2 separate regions of the Homo sapiens genome follow, and region 1 is linked to region 2. The links are contacts of gene promoters, found by promoter capture Hi-C in human tissues and cell types (Jung and others, 2019). All regions are on one chromosome and are shown on one strand. The core of a region is centred on a gene start or on the middle of the fragment in contact, and the rest is flanking DNA. Distances in the headings are between cores, read along the strand shown. Region 1 overlaps KIAA0319L (KIAA0319 like). Region 2 holds the start of AGO4 (argonaute RISC component 4).

Region 1 (5,819 bases), core at 86-2,585, 360 kb before region 2:
AGTTTCCTTTTCCCCTTTTTTTTTCTTTTTTTTTTTTTTCTTGAGACAGTCTCACTCTGTCTTCCAGGCTGGAGTGCAGTGGTGTGATCAGAGCTCACTGCAGCCTCAAACCCCTGGGCTCAAGTAATTCTCCTGCCTCAGCTTCCCAAATAGCTTGGACTACAGGCGAACCACACTGCACCTGGCTAATTTTTAAATCTTCTGTAGAGGTGGGGTCTTGTTATGTTGCCCAGGTTGAAGTTTTCTTTATTCTAGAAAAATCTTTGGATTACTCCTACCCCAACTCTCCTAGAAGAATTCATTGTCCTTGCCACAGTGTTCCACAATGCCGCTTGTTGTACCAAACCCACACCGTACTAATGTTCCATATTTACTTATCTCCTCTACTAGACTGTGGTTGTCAAAATAGTTGACCTCCTACACCCTGGAGCCCTGCTGAAGTGTCTAGTACAGCGCATGTCACCTGCACTAGAAGACAGAAGTCTATTGAAGAAAAGGCAACATGAGTGTTTCTGGTCAGAAAGCCCACCTTTCTCTATCTAACCACACTATTTCTCAGCTCATTCAAGAAGCCCGGGGGCCCCTGGTCTTTCCTTTGCTCCCCCCATTCATTGCCCAGCTACCTCTGCTCCGTGTACGGCTGAATCTTTTGCACAATGATGTCGGAATCCAGCACCCCCAGGAGGACCCCAATCTGGCGGATGAACATCCCCTTCAGCCTCTCAGTTAGCTGACTGACGTTGATATCCAAGATGATCTCCACCAGGTTGTTTTTCCTGGGATCTGGAAAGCATGTGGATCAGTCATGGCTTTAGAAGTAGGAGAGTAAACACAGACCTGCCACTGTGCATTTGCTTTGGCACAGGAGAGAAAGGAGTGAGAACATTCAGATATCCTTCAAATGGAAAGGGACAATAGTGAATTCCTGATCGGGCAATCTGGGGCTGGCTTAGAAAGCTTCTAAAGCACTCCTGCTCTCTATACCAACCTGAGAATTCCCACACATGTGCTGGGGATAAGGCTGAAGCAGTGATGCAATGAGGGGTGGGGAGTAATGACGGGAGTGGGGAAGAGAGAAACACTTAAACATTTGTTTTAAAAGCCTCTGTGCAACTGGCAGTGCTGAGCAATCCAGGCCAAGTGGGGGTTATTAAGCAATCTCTCCTGACTCACATCTGATTTTCAGTGCCTCGCTGTATTTTGTGCACAACAATGGGAGGAAAAGTGTCCATCTCAACAACCTCCTCAATAATGGGAATGCATCCGTCCCTCCAGGTTTAAATACAGTTAACAAAAGAAAATCCAGTCAGCCAAGACACAAGGATTTCCTTAGAGCCACATCACAGCTGCACTATCTTTGTATAACTCTAAAACGGTGAGGCTATCATGTTTTACTTTTGAATATGTCCTAAAGATGTTCTACATTTGGAATTTCAAACTGATTGTTTGGAATGCCTTATTTACATACTTGAATGCACCACTTGCCTGTTCTGATGTATAATTTGCATAATTAGTAGACTATCTGTGATCTGACTTTAAACACCAAAGAGATTTTATAGTGTCTCAGCTACTGTCCTTCCTAGAGGCAGGACAAGGACTGGAAGACCTCCCAAGATCCCTTCCTGTCCAAAACATCCATATATGAGGTTGGCCTAGATAATAAAGAGTAGGTTTAAAGTTAATACCATTTCATCAGAAGCTCAGGAATTTATACAGCTCTATCCCACCTCCATACTCAGTGCCTCCCTATCACCATATTAATCTCAAAGCAAAATAAAAACATGGTTCTATTTAAGAAGAAAATTTTTATTTCTGCAAAGCTGAAAAATGTAAAGAGCACTATTACTTTACCTTCCCTGGATTATCAGACAAGGCCTGAGGCTCAACTTATAAAAATAAATTGTTTTCTGCATCTGGATGCTGATGAGACATCATGACTCAAGCTATTCCCATGCTCAGATTCCCAAGCACTCTGAGCCCTCTCTCATCAGTCACGAGGAGAGGAGAAAGTGCTGGACTACGAGCACAAAGGCCTGGCTCTGACACAACTGCTGTGTGACACTGAGCAAGTCCTGCCCTCTCTGAGTTTGTTTCTCCATCTGAGATGAATAGGGGGAGGTCTGTATTTCTGCATGGGTAGGAGGTATTATTGGAACAGACGGTCTCTATGGATTTTTCAGCTTGGGGTTTCTCGATTATTTTTAAAGCTGGACATGCCATCTGGCTCTGTCCATGCTCGGGGAAGGGGATCTCAGGATAGAGGCCTTGATTGGCTGATTCAGCAATTCTACTCAGCCTCATCACTAAATGAACTCACCAGGTTTCACCTCCACAGTGGTCCGGTCTGTGTCACTCTCACCCTTTGCATCGGTCACTTTCAGGTGAAAAGTGTAGGTTCCCTCAACCAGGTTTGAAAGAAAAAGGATAGGGTGATGGTCAGAGTGATTTAACACCTCCTGTAGGGTTGAACAACATGGCTATGTTACAGAACAAAATGCCATTCCTTTCCTGGAGTCAGTTGCTGCTTTCACCATAACTAGGCCCTTCAGGGCTGAACTGTTTCAACCTTGGGCAGTTCCTGATACGGAACAGCATTGCAGCCTACAACTGCTAGGATCAGGGAAGGGAAACCCATTCTGTGCTATACTAGCTTACAGAATGACCCTAAGCAAGTCACTTCACCTCCCTGGATTTCAGAGAACAATCTGGGTTTGATATAAGGGACCACTTGATTAAAGCATATACTGGAACGCGTGGCTCCTCCTCCTCCCCACTCCTGTGTAGCTCTCCAGCTCCTAGCACACTTACCCCTGCTGCTGGGCTCCCCTCATCTCGAGTCCAGAGGTAGCTGACTATTCCCTTGTCATCTGAGGACTTAGAGCCATCCAGCTCTGCTGTGCTCGTGGGTAGGGTAATCACCACATTCCCAGTTATCTTGGCTATAGGTGGTTTGTTTATTTCTAATCAAAAAGAAATCATTGACATAATGTGACATTCTGGAAAAGAAGAAATGTTTCTTCATGATGCTTATGGGGAAATTAAAACATCAAGAGTACCTTAACTGGAGAACCTTTTTAAGTGCCTGTCCCTGCCACCAACCAACAGTGTAGATGAAAGCTACCAGCGCTGCAGTCCTGAGGTTCCAGTCCTACCCAGAGAAATGTTCTCCTAACACTGTACAACAGAGGGGACGAGTGTGCTTTCCTCTCATATTCTCCCAGCAGCCTTCCCAAATGGAATCCATTTCTCTGCTTTGGAGGTATGTGATGATCAGAAATAACGGCCCAAACTGGCTTAAAACCTTGGAGTTTAGGTTTCACCTAGCTGATCTTGCAAATTCTCCTTCAAAATATCTTAAAATGTTATTCTCTGAATATCTTTTTGGACCCCTTCCTTGGAACTTCACAAGAGAAAACAAAGAGCTACCTCTCTTATTCGGAGCCCCACGTGAAGCTCTGTATATTCAGATGTCTGTGCAGTATTTACTCAGCTTGGTATCTTATGTCTGGAGGTCTGCATATCTGATGGTTTTTCCTGCTATCAACTTAAGGCCCTCAACTTAAGGCCCTCTCCCACAGCTCTCACTGGTCACTGTGCCTGTAAACTAGAGCAAGGCCTCTGGCTGGCCTCAGCTCAAAGGCTCAGGGCAAGCATAGTCAGCTGTAGTGCGGCCGTCATTCTCAAGCCTGACAGCAGGTGTCACTGTAGCTAACAGGAGTCACGGCCCAGGTCTCAGCAATGCAGAGGGGCAAAATAAAAATGCAAAGAATAGAACCCTTAATTCTTTCCCTATTCAACTGAGAAATAAAGTAAGGAGGGAAGGAGGGAGGACTGAAAAGAAAGTAAGGGGATGAGAGGGAAGGGAAGATGTAAGCAGGAGGAGGGAGGGAAGTTAAAATTCACCTTACAGTCCAATTAAAGGCTGTTTTAGAAAAGAAAATAACAATTGCCCTCACCCCAACCCTCTTACCCACCTCTTGCTATCTCTAATCAATTTCTGCAGGCAAACATGACAGGATAAATTCTTCAGCTATCTGACCCTAAGAGGCTGCTACACAAACTGGAGGCAGAGAGGTACCTTCTTTGACAATGACATTCACAGAGCTCTGGCTTTGCAGGTTCCTCTCATCTTTGACAGTCAAGGTGAACACATAGGTCCCCACTTGCAGCCCAGTCACAGTAGCAACACTGCTGTTAGCATTCTCGAGCTGCACCCCATCAGGTCCCCTGCAAAAAAAGAAACTAGAGGGTAGAGTTGTACCTGTCTGCTGCTGTCCTGTCCCTAACTTAGCAGGAGGAGACAATGACTCCCTCAGCAAAGACACGAACTACTGTTACCCAGACCTTGACAAGACATGTTTAAAAATATTTCAATTGGACAAAGTGTCATTTGGCCTCAAAATACAGGCTGCCTGCTGGTCAGAAAATTCAAATAGCTTTCAAACACCTCTAGCCTTATCCTTTATATGAGCTTCTAGAACACTTGAACGCTTTACCATTCTAGTTTGTAAAAGGAAGAAAGTTCTCTGAGCAAGTCTCTGATCAAAAGAATGATTTAAGAGTGATGTTTCTAAAAAGCATTTCTGGCCCAGTAGTTGGTTTGGCTCTTGCCAGCAAGGAAGCAAAATGCATTTCTTAATCACGTGCCCAAATCCTTCCTGATGAAAGAAAAGGAAATGGGGCAAGACTGCAGAGGAACTCTCAGGACAAAATCATCTTGTTTGTAGCAACTCTATAAGCAAAGTTCCCTCCAGCTCCTGGACAGGGGCCATCAAGCACCTAGGACACCCTACAACCCTTCTTCCCCCTTGTGGCCTCAGAGACTTGCCTGCAGCAGCCAAGGGAGCTCTGTGCCAACATTCAGGCTGCACACAGCCAGAGAGCCCTCTGCTCAAGGATCAAAATGCCCCAGAGCTTTTAACTACAGGAAAGCCAGAGAAATCTGCAGACATCCAGGATTTACTTTGTTTTGCCTTTTAAAGTTACAGCCTCTGATCCTGGTAGCTCCTCCTGAAGCACAGTCTCCTTCAAGAAGCTATGCTAAGCATTATCTCTGCTGTAAACACTAATAAAACTCAGCTAAAAGGTCTATCAGCCATATCTTCAATAAACAATTATAATTAAAAACACCCTGGGCTGGGTAAGATTATGTTCTACAAAAGATAAAAACAAGAGCTGAGGGAAATAATTTCTAGATTCCAACTCAGCAATCTCAAAAGCAAGTCATTTGTATAGTCAAATTAAAGTTCTTTTCCACCCATCTCCAATGCCTTTGTCAAACAAACAAACAAACAAACAAACAAACAAACACAATACAAAAAAAAACCCAGGCTGTCCTATGGTTGCTACCTTTGGAAACAGAGAATACTTTTAACTCTTCTTAGAATTCTTTTGCTACTTGTGGGATCCTGCATATAATTTCAGTTGCATTAGTTATGCTTTAAAGGAGCTAAAAGAAACTACAGGAACTAAGAATGGTTCAGTTAGGTAATTTCTATGTAATTAGAATTATTTTGATTACCGCCTTTGGCCTCTGGCTAACTTAATTGGTAAATGGTGTCTTCAAGAAAACAATAACAGAGTAATGCTTTCATTTTATGGATGTATTTTCAATTTCTCTTAATAGCTGCTCTGCCCCATCCCCCGTGCCAGCCTTACCCAGTTAATTCTGAGCAACAGTATTTTTCTGCTCCATTACCCCTTCCATCCTGCCTCTCAAGTGTAATTAAACTCTGCATTTCAGCAGATGGATTGTACCTGAAAAAGCACCAGGATCACACAGTACTACCTGGGGACTAGTTGATGGCAAGCATTCTTTT
Region 2 (5,913 bases), core at 1,086-3,585:
CATCCTGGCTAATATGGTGAAACCCCGTCTCTACTACAAATACAAAAAATTAGCCGGGCGTGGTGGCGGGCACCTGTAGTCCCAGCTACTCGGAAGGCTGAGGCAGGAAAATGATGTGAACCCGGGAGGCGGAGCTTGCAGTGAGCCGAGATCGCGCTGCTGCACCCAAGCCTGGGCGACAGAGCGAGACTCCGGGTCAAAAAAAATAAAAGAATATAGGGTATGGTATCAGTAGACAAGAATGTAGGCACTAGATTAAAAGTCCCAGTTCCGGCCGGGCGCGGTGGCTCAAGCTCGTAATCCCAGCACTTTGGGAGGCTGAGGCGGGCGGATCACAAGGTCAGGAGATCGAGACCATTTTGGCTAACACGGTGAAACCCCGTCTCTACTAAAAATACAAAAAAAAATTTAGCCGGGCGTGGTAGCGGGCGCCTGTAGTCCCAGCTACTTGGGAGGCTGAGGCAGGAGAATGGCGTGAACCCGGGAGGCGGAGCTTGCAGTGAGCCGAGATGGCGCCACTGCACTCCAGCCTGGGCGACAGAGCGAGACTCCGTCTCAAAAAATAAAAAATAAAAAAATAAAAGTCCTAGTTCCATAGCCAATCAGGGAGAGAATTAGCCAGGACTTAAATGCAAGATTTGAACTCCAATTTTTCCCATGCTTCACTTCAGCATCATGTAATGCAAAGCCCGACTTACTTAACTTCCCTGAGCTTCGGTGTCATCATCTGTACAAATACCTTTCTTAACAATATCTACCTTACTGGTGGTTGTAAAGATTGAGTGACAATGAGAAGCCCATAGCAGAGTGCATGGCCAGGATGTGATGCTAATATTTTTTATCATTACATAAAAAAACTACCTGGCTCTGTGACAGCACATGGCAGGTGCTCAAATGAATATCCCACCACACATGCTAGGGGCCTAAATTATCCCCCACCCCAATAATTTGTATATTGAAGTCCTAACTCTAGCACCCCAGGATGTGACTGTAATTGGAAACAGGGTCTCTGAAGAGGTAATTAAATTAAAACGAGGTCACTAGAGTGAGCCCTACTCTAATAGGACTGCTGTCCTTATAAGAAGAGGAAATTTGGACACAGACGTGCACAGAGGGAAGACCACGTGAAGTCACTGGGAGAAGGCCACTATCTACCAAGTGAAGGAGATAGGCCTCAGAAGGAACCAACCCTGCCTACATCGTATCTCTGACTGCCAGCCTCCAGAATTGTGAGAAAATAAATTTCTGTTGTTTAAGCCACCCAGTCTGTGGTACTTTGTTACGTTATGCCGTAGCAAAGGAATACAACACACACACACAAACTCATCGTACCTTTTCAATTGGTGGACAAGGGGCTCCTTCCTTCTGCTGACTAGAAACTGCTTCTTGGCCTGTTGTCCAGTGTTCTCCCACTCAAAGTCCTTACTGAAAGCCCTAAAGATGCTGTGCCTGCTGGGCTGACCATGCTGCCTTGGAGGTGGTGCTGCTCCCTTGGCTTTTGTCTGCTAAGGGGAAGGCATCCAAGAAAGCAAGACCTTTCTCTCTCTCTCTCTCTTTTATTTTTATTTTTTTTTTTTCAGACAGTCTTGCTCTGTCGCCCAGGCTGGAGTGCAGTGGCCCGATTTCGGCTCACTGAAACCTCTGCCTCCCGGGTTCAAGCGATTCTCCTGCCTCAGCCTCCCAAGTAGCTGGGATTACAGGCGCCTGCCTCCACGCCCGGCTAATTTTTTGTGTTTTTAGTAGAGATGGGCTTCCGCCATGTTGGCCAGGATGGTCTCAAACTCCTGACCCCAGGTGATCCACCCGCCTCCGCCTCCCAAAGTGCTGGTATTACAGGCGTGAGCCACCACGCCCGGCCAAGACCTTTCTCTTCTAAAGTGACTGGTGATTTGCTGACCAGAGGCGCTTGTCATGGGACCAGGGAGGGAATGCATCATTCATCAGGGTCCATTCCCGTGGTGCCTTCCGGCTATACGGAGAGGGACGCGCAGTTGGGTGTGTGGTGCTGAATGAAGGGATGAAGGAGGACTGCTAGCGTCTAAGGTGACCCTAAAAGACGAGATGACAGAAGCGATCTGGGGTGGGAGGAGGGAGGAGGGAGGCGAGGTGGCTCCTGTGAATCTCAGTACACTTTCCACTCACAGAAGTGGAAAACTGAATCTGTGGGTCAGCGGAACTGGAATCCAGATCTTTTGCAGGACGCCCTGGGGGGATGGCACGTAGCCCCCAGAGCCGTTGGCCACCGGACGGCCTCCTCGGGTGGACGGGGCAGAGCGGGCCAGCGGGCGCGTGCCCGACACGTCCACCGGGCTCTGCACCCTCCGGGCGCGCGCTCGTTCCCCGACCCGCCTCGCCGCCTGCCGGGCTCTGTGGACCCCGCGCCCGGGGCCGCGCACGCCCCCTCCGCCCGCCGGGACCCTGGGTCCGCGCACCCCGCGCCCCCTTCCCTCCCGGCGGGCGCGCGCGCTGGCTCCCGCTCCCGCTCCCGTTGGCGGCGGCGGCGGCGGCGGCGGCGGGGATTGTTTTTGTTGTCGCTGAGGCCGGAAGAGCCGGAGCCGGGTCCCTGTCCCCGGGCCGGGCGCCGCCGCCGCCCCCTGCCCAGCGCCCGCGTCTCCGCGGCGCCACCCCAGCGCCAATATTCCGGAGATCAAGCGTTACGCGGCGGCGGCGGCGGCGGCGGCGGGGCCCGGAGCGGGAGGCGCCGGGGACCGGGGCGAGGCGGCCCCCGCCGCCGCCATGGAGGCGCTGGGACCCGGTGAGGAGCGAGCTCGGGTCGGGGCGGGACCCGGGACCCGGGACCCGGGGCGGGCGGCCGGGACTTTCGCTGCCCCGTCGCCTCGCCGGGTTCGGGCCGCCAGGCCTCGGGGAAGGGGACCCGAGCCCCGCAGCACGAAGCGGAGGGAGCTGACCCGGGCCTGGGGGGCGGTGACCGCGCCCCAGCCGGCCGTTGGGTGGATCCCGAGGTCCAGGGGGGAGGTTCGGGAAGGTGACCGGCGCTGCCGGGCGGAGGCCACTCTTGGCCCCACCTCGGGGAGACGATATGTGCCCGGGGTCGCGACGAGGGTAGTTTGGGCCTCAGAAGGGGGCGATCCGCTACCCAGTGCGCGCGGAGGCCTGGCCCAGACCGGGAAAAGGGCCCCGCTGCCTACTACCAGCCGGTAGTCCTGGTTTGGGGCCGCGCCCCTATTTTTCTTTGCACTGGCAGATGGTCCAGAGCCTTCAGATGAGGAAGAAGAACTTCATCCAAACACCTCTCATGATCTCTGAAGGTCAAGGGACAAAATGCCCACCCTTTCTGAAAGGCCCTGATGTCCCAAAGAACATGGTCCTGTGCCTCTGTCACTCAGTCTGTGTGTTAGTCTCAGAGTGGTCTGAGCCAGCCTTTGAGTGACACAGGAGTTGCCAGTCAGTCTGCTCCACCACAGGCTTCAATGCCCTGAGTTCTCTTCTAATTGGGTTATGAGTGGTTGTGAGGATCAAATGAAGGAGAAAGTGCTTTGGAAACTAATTTGTTGTGGATATGGATGGCCTCTGGTTATTTCTCTCTATCCAAACCAGAAGAACCATTCCAGGCTGTAACAAGTGTCCTGAGTATTGGGGCCTGGTGCTTCCACCTCAAAGCCCAACAGGTTTCTAATGCCTTGGCTAAGTAGCTCAGTGTTTAGGGGCTGTGGTGGAATTCACTTTAATATTCAAACTTTACCTACATAATGAACTTAGTCGTAGAGTGTTTCATCTTTTTAGTGCGTAGAAAATTCGAGTTGCCATTTGAGTTTGGAAACTTGGCACGTTTGTTTACTTAGCACTTGTTTGCATAGCTGAGTGATTAAGCCCCACCCTAATTTGCTTCTTAAAGTATTGTTTAAAGGCCCTCATAATCAAATTTCATATGCCTTTTAAAAATAAATTGGCTTGCCGCATTAATATTGTTTGATAAACTTCAGTGTATTATGCCAGGTTAACTTCAGATATGTCCCCTGGCTAAAGACATGCTCAGGTCTTTAGGAATGTAACAGATTCAATCTAGTAATGTAATAGTTGTATGACCCTGGGAAAATTACTCAATTCCTTTGAACTTTCATTTTCTCGTCTATAAATTGAGGGTAATAATAAGTATGTTCTGTAAGATTGTTGAGAGAATGAAATGAGAGTATATGATAAGTCTTATTGTAGAGACTAGTGCCTATAGATGCTCAACAGATGTTTCTTCCCTCCCCCTAGTAATTCATAATTGAAACAACTGTTGCATTTATGATCTGATATCGAAAGAAATTGTGTAACTGTGGGCATAAACTGAATTTCATGGAAAGGATCAACCTGGTGATATTAGGCACTGCCCAGGGACTCTTTTTTTTTTTTGTTTTGATTTTAGCTTTTGCAGGTTTGAGGACTTAGTGGTTCACTCAGGATTGTTCAGATTGTGGAAAATTAATTCTCACTAACCACATTTATAAGACACTAATGAATAAGCCAAAATGTCACATGGATCTTTTCTGTTGAGTGGAATATTTTCCTGTCTGCTCTCTAGCAAACTCCTTTTTTGGTGTTGCAGTACCTTGGAAACCCAACTAATAAGTAGCTGCCTGCTAAGCATAGAATCAGAGCAAAGGGAGTTGATCGTCTTGTGGGATGATTCATCCAGGCTGTTTTAGAACCTAGAGAATCATCCCTGCTTCTTTGGCAGAGCACACCTGGATCTAGTGCTTTGTGCCCTCCTCACTTGAACAGTCCCTGAAGCCTTCTAGTCTTGTTCTATCCCTCCCTGCCCACCGCCTCCCTGCAACCTAGTTCAGTTTCTGCCAATACTCAGAAATATAATTAATTAGATTTCCACTTATTTTGGTAATATGTTGTTTGCAGTACTTTATAGTTTGTAAAGTGCTTTTATGACTATTAGCTCATTTGATCCTCTGGGAGGTAGGCAGGGCAGGTAGTTATTCCATTTTACAGATGAGAAAAGTGAGGTTCAGAGAGGATGAAGTGACTTCATTAGGGTTTCAAAGGGTCAAGTGGTGAAATAAAGACCTGAGTTTGGGTCATTTGACTTCTAATCTAATCATCTCCTCTTCATTAAGGCTGACTTCATCTGTTCTATGTTGTCATATCAGTTGCCCTTTCAGAGAATGCAGTTATCTGACTTTGTCACCACATTTTTGGGATACCCTGAAAATAAAACTGTGGTGGTTCATGCCTGTAATCCCAGCACTTTGGGAGGTTGAGGTGGGCGGATCATTTGCGGCCAGGAGTTCGAGACCAGCCTGGCCAGCATGGTGAAACTCCGTCTCTACTAAAAATATAAAAATTAGCTGGCTAAAAATATAAAAATTAGCTGGGTGTGGTGGCATACCTGTAGCCCTAGCTACTCTGGTGGCTGAAGTGGGAGGATGGCTTGAGCCTGCGAGGCAGAGGATGCTGCGAGCTGAGATCGCACCTCAAAAAGAAACCCTGCCTCAAAACAAAACAAAACAACAAAAAAAAACCAACCAAACCACAACAAAAAAACACCTCAGGGGCTGGGCACAGTGGCTCACGCCTGAAATCCCAGCACTCTGGGAGGCCGAGGTGGGCGGATCACCTGAGGTTAGGAGTTCAAGACCAGCCTGGCCAACGTAGTGAAACCCGTCTCTACTAAAAATATAAAAATTAGATGGGTGTGGTGGTGTGCTCCTGTAGTCTGAGGCTGCTGCAGGAGAATCGCTTGAACACAGGAGGCGGAAGTTGCAGTGAGCCGAGATTGCGCCACTGCACTCCAGCCTGGGTGACAGAGCAAGACTCCATCCAAAAAAAAACAAAAAAAAAAACAAAAACCAACCACCTCAGGGACCTTTGAGCACTAACTATGATTATAACGTTTACAAATGCAATTATAATAGCTAACATTTACTGAGCGTTTACTATTGCAAGGCACTATGT

What was found. The method cuts DNA at HindIII sites, captures the fragments that hold promoters and counts their contacts. A contact is called where the count stands out against the background at its distance.
Region 1: a fragment that was not itself captured here is called in contact with the fragment with the promoter of AGO4 in region 2 in 1 of the 25 tissues and cell types used here (heart right ventricle).

Annotation. Positions count from the first base shown.
Region 1 is chr1:35,447,550-35,453,368 of GRCh38, forward strand. It overlaps KIAA0319L (KIAA0319 like), which reads right to left. Exons shown (of 21, transcript NM_024874.5): 13 at 4,079-4,227; 14 at 2,809-2,960; 15 at 2,318-2,456; 16 at 624-783. Among named protein-coding and RNA genes, the nearest start is that of ZMYM4-AS1, 84 kb to the left of the region's middle. RefSeq lists a silencer at 3,551-3,730. The HindIII fragment of the contact is 6,659 bases long and covers 1-4,665 here.
Region 2 is chr1:35,805,681-35,811,593 of GRCh38, forward strand. AGO4 (argonaute RISC component 4) reads left to right here and starts at 2,336. Exons shown (of 18, transcript NM_017629.4): 1 at 2,336-2,755. The coding sequence starts at 2,737. It overlaps CLSPN-DT (CLSPN divergent transcript), which reads left to right. Exons shown (of 3, transcript NR_199050.1): 3 at 1,065-1,260. RefSeq lists enhancers at 1,510-2,009, 3,109-3,388 and silencers at 2,219-2,428, 2,709-2,958. The HindIII fragment of the contact is 21,017 bases long and covers 1-5,913 here.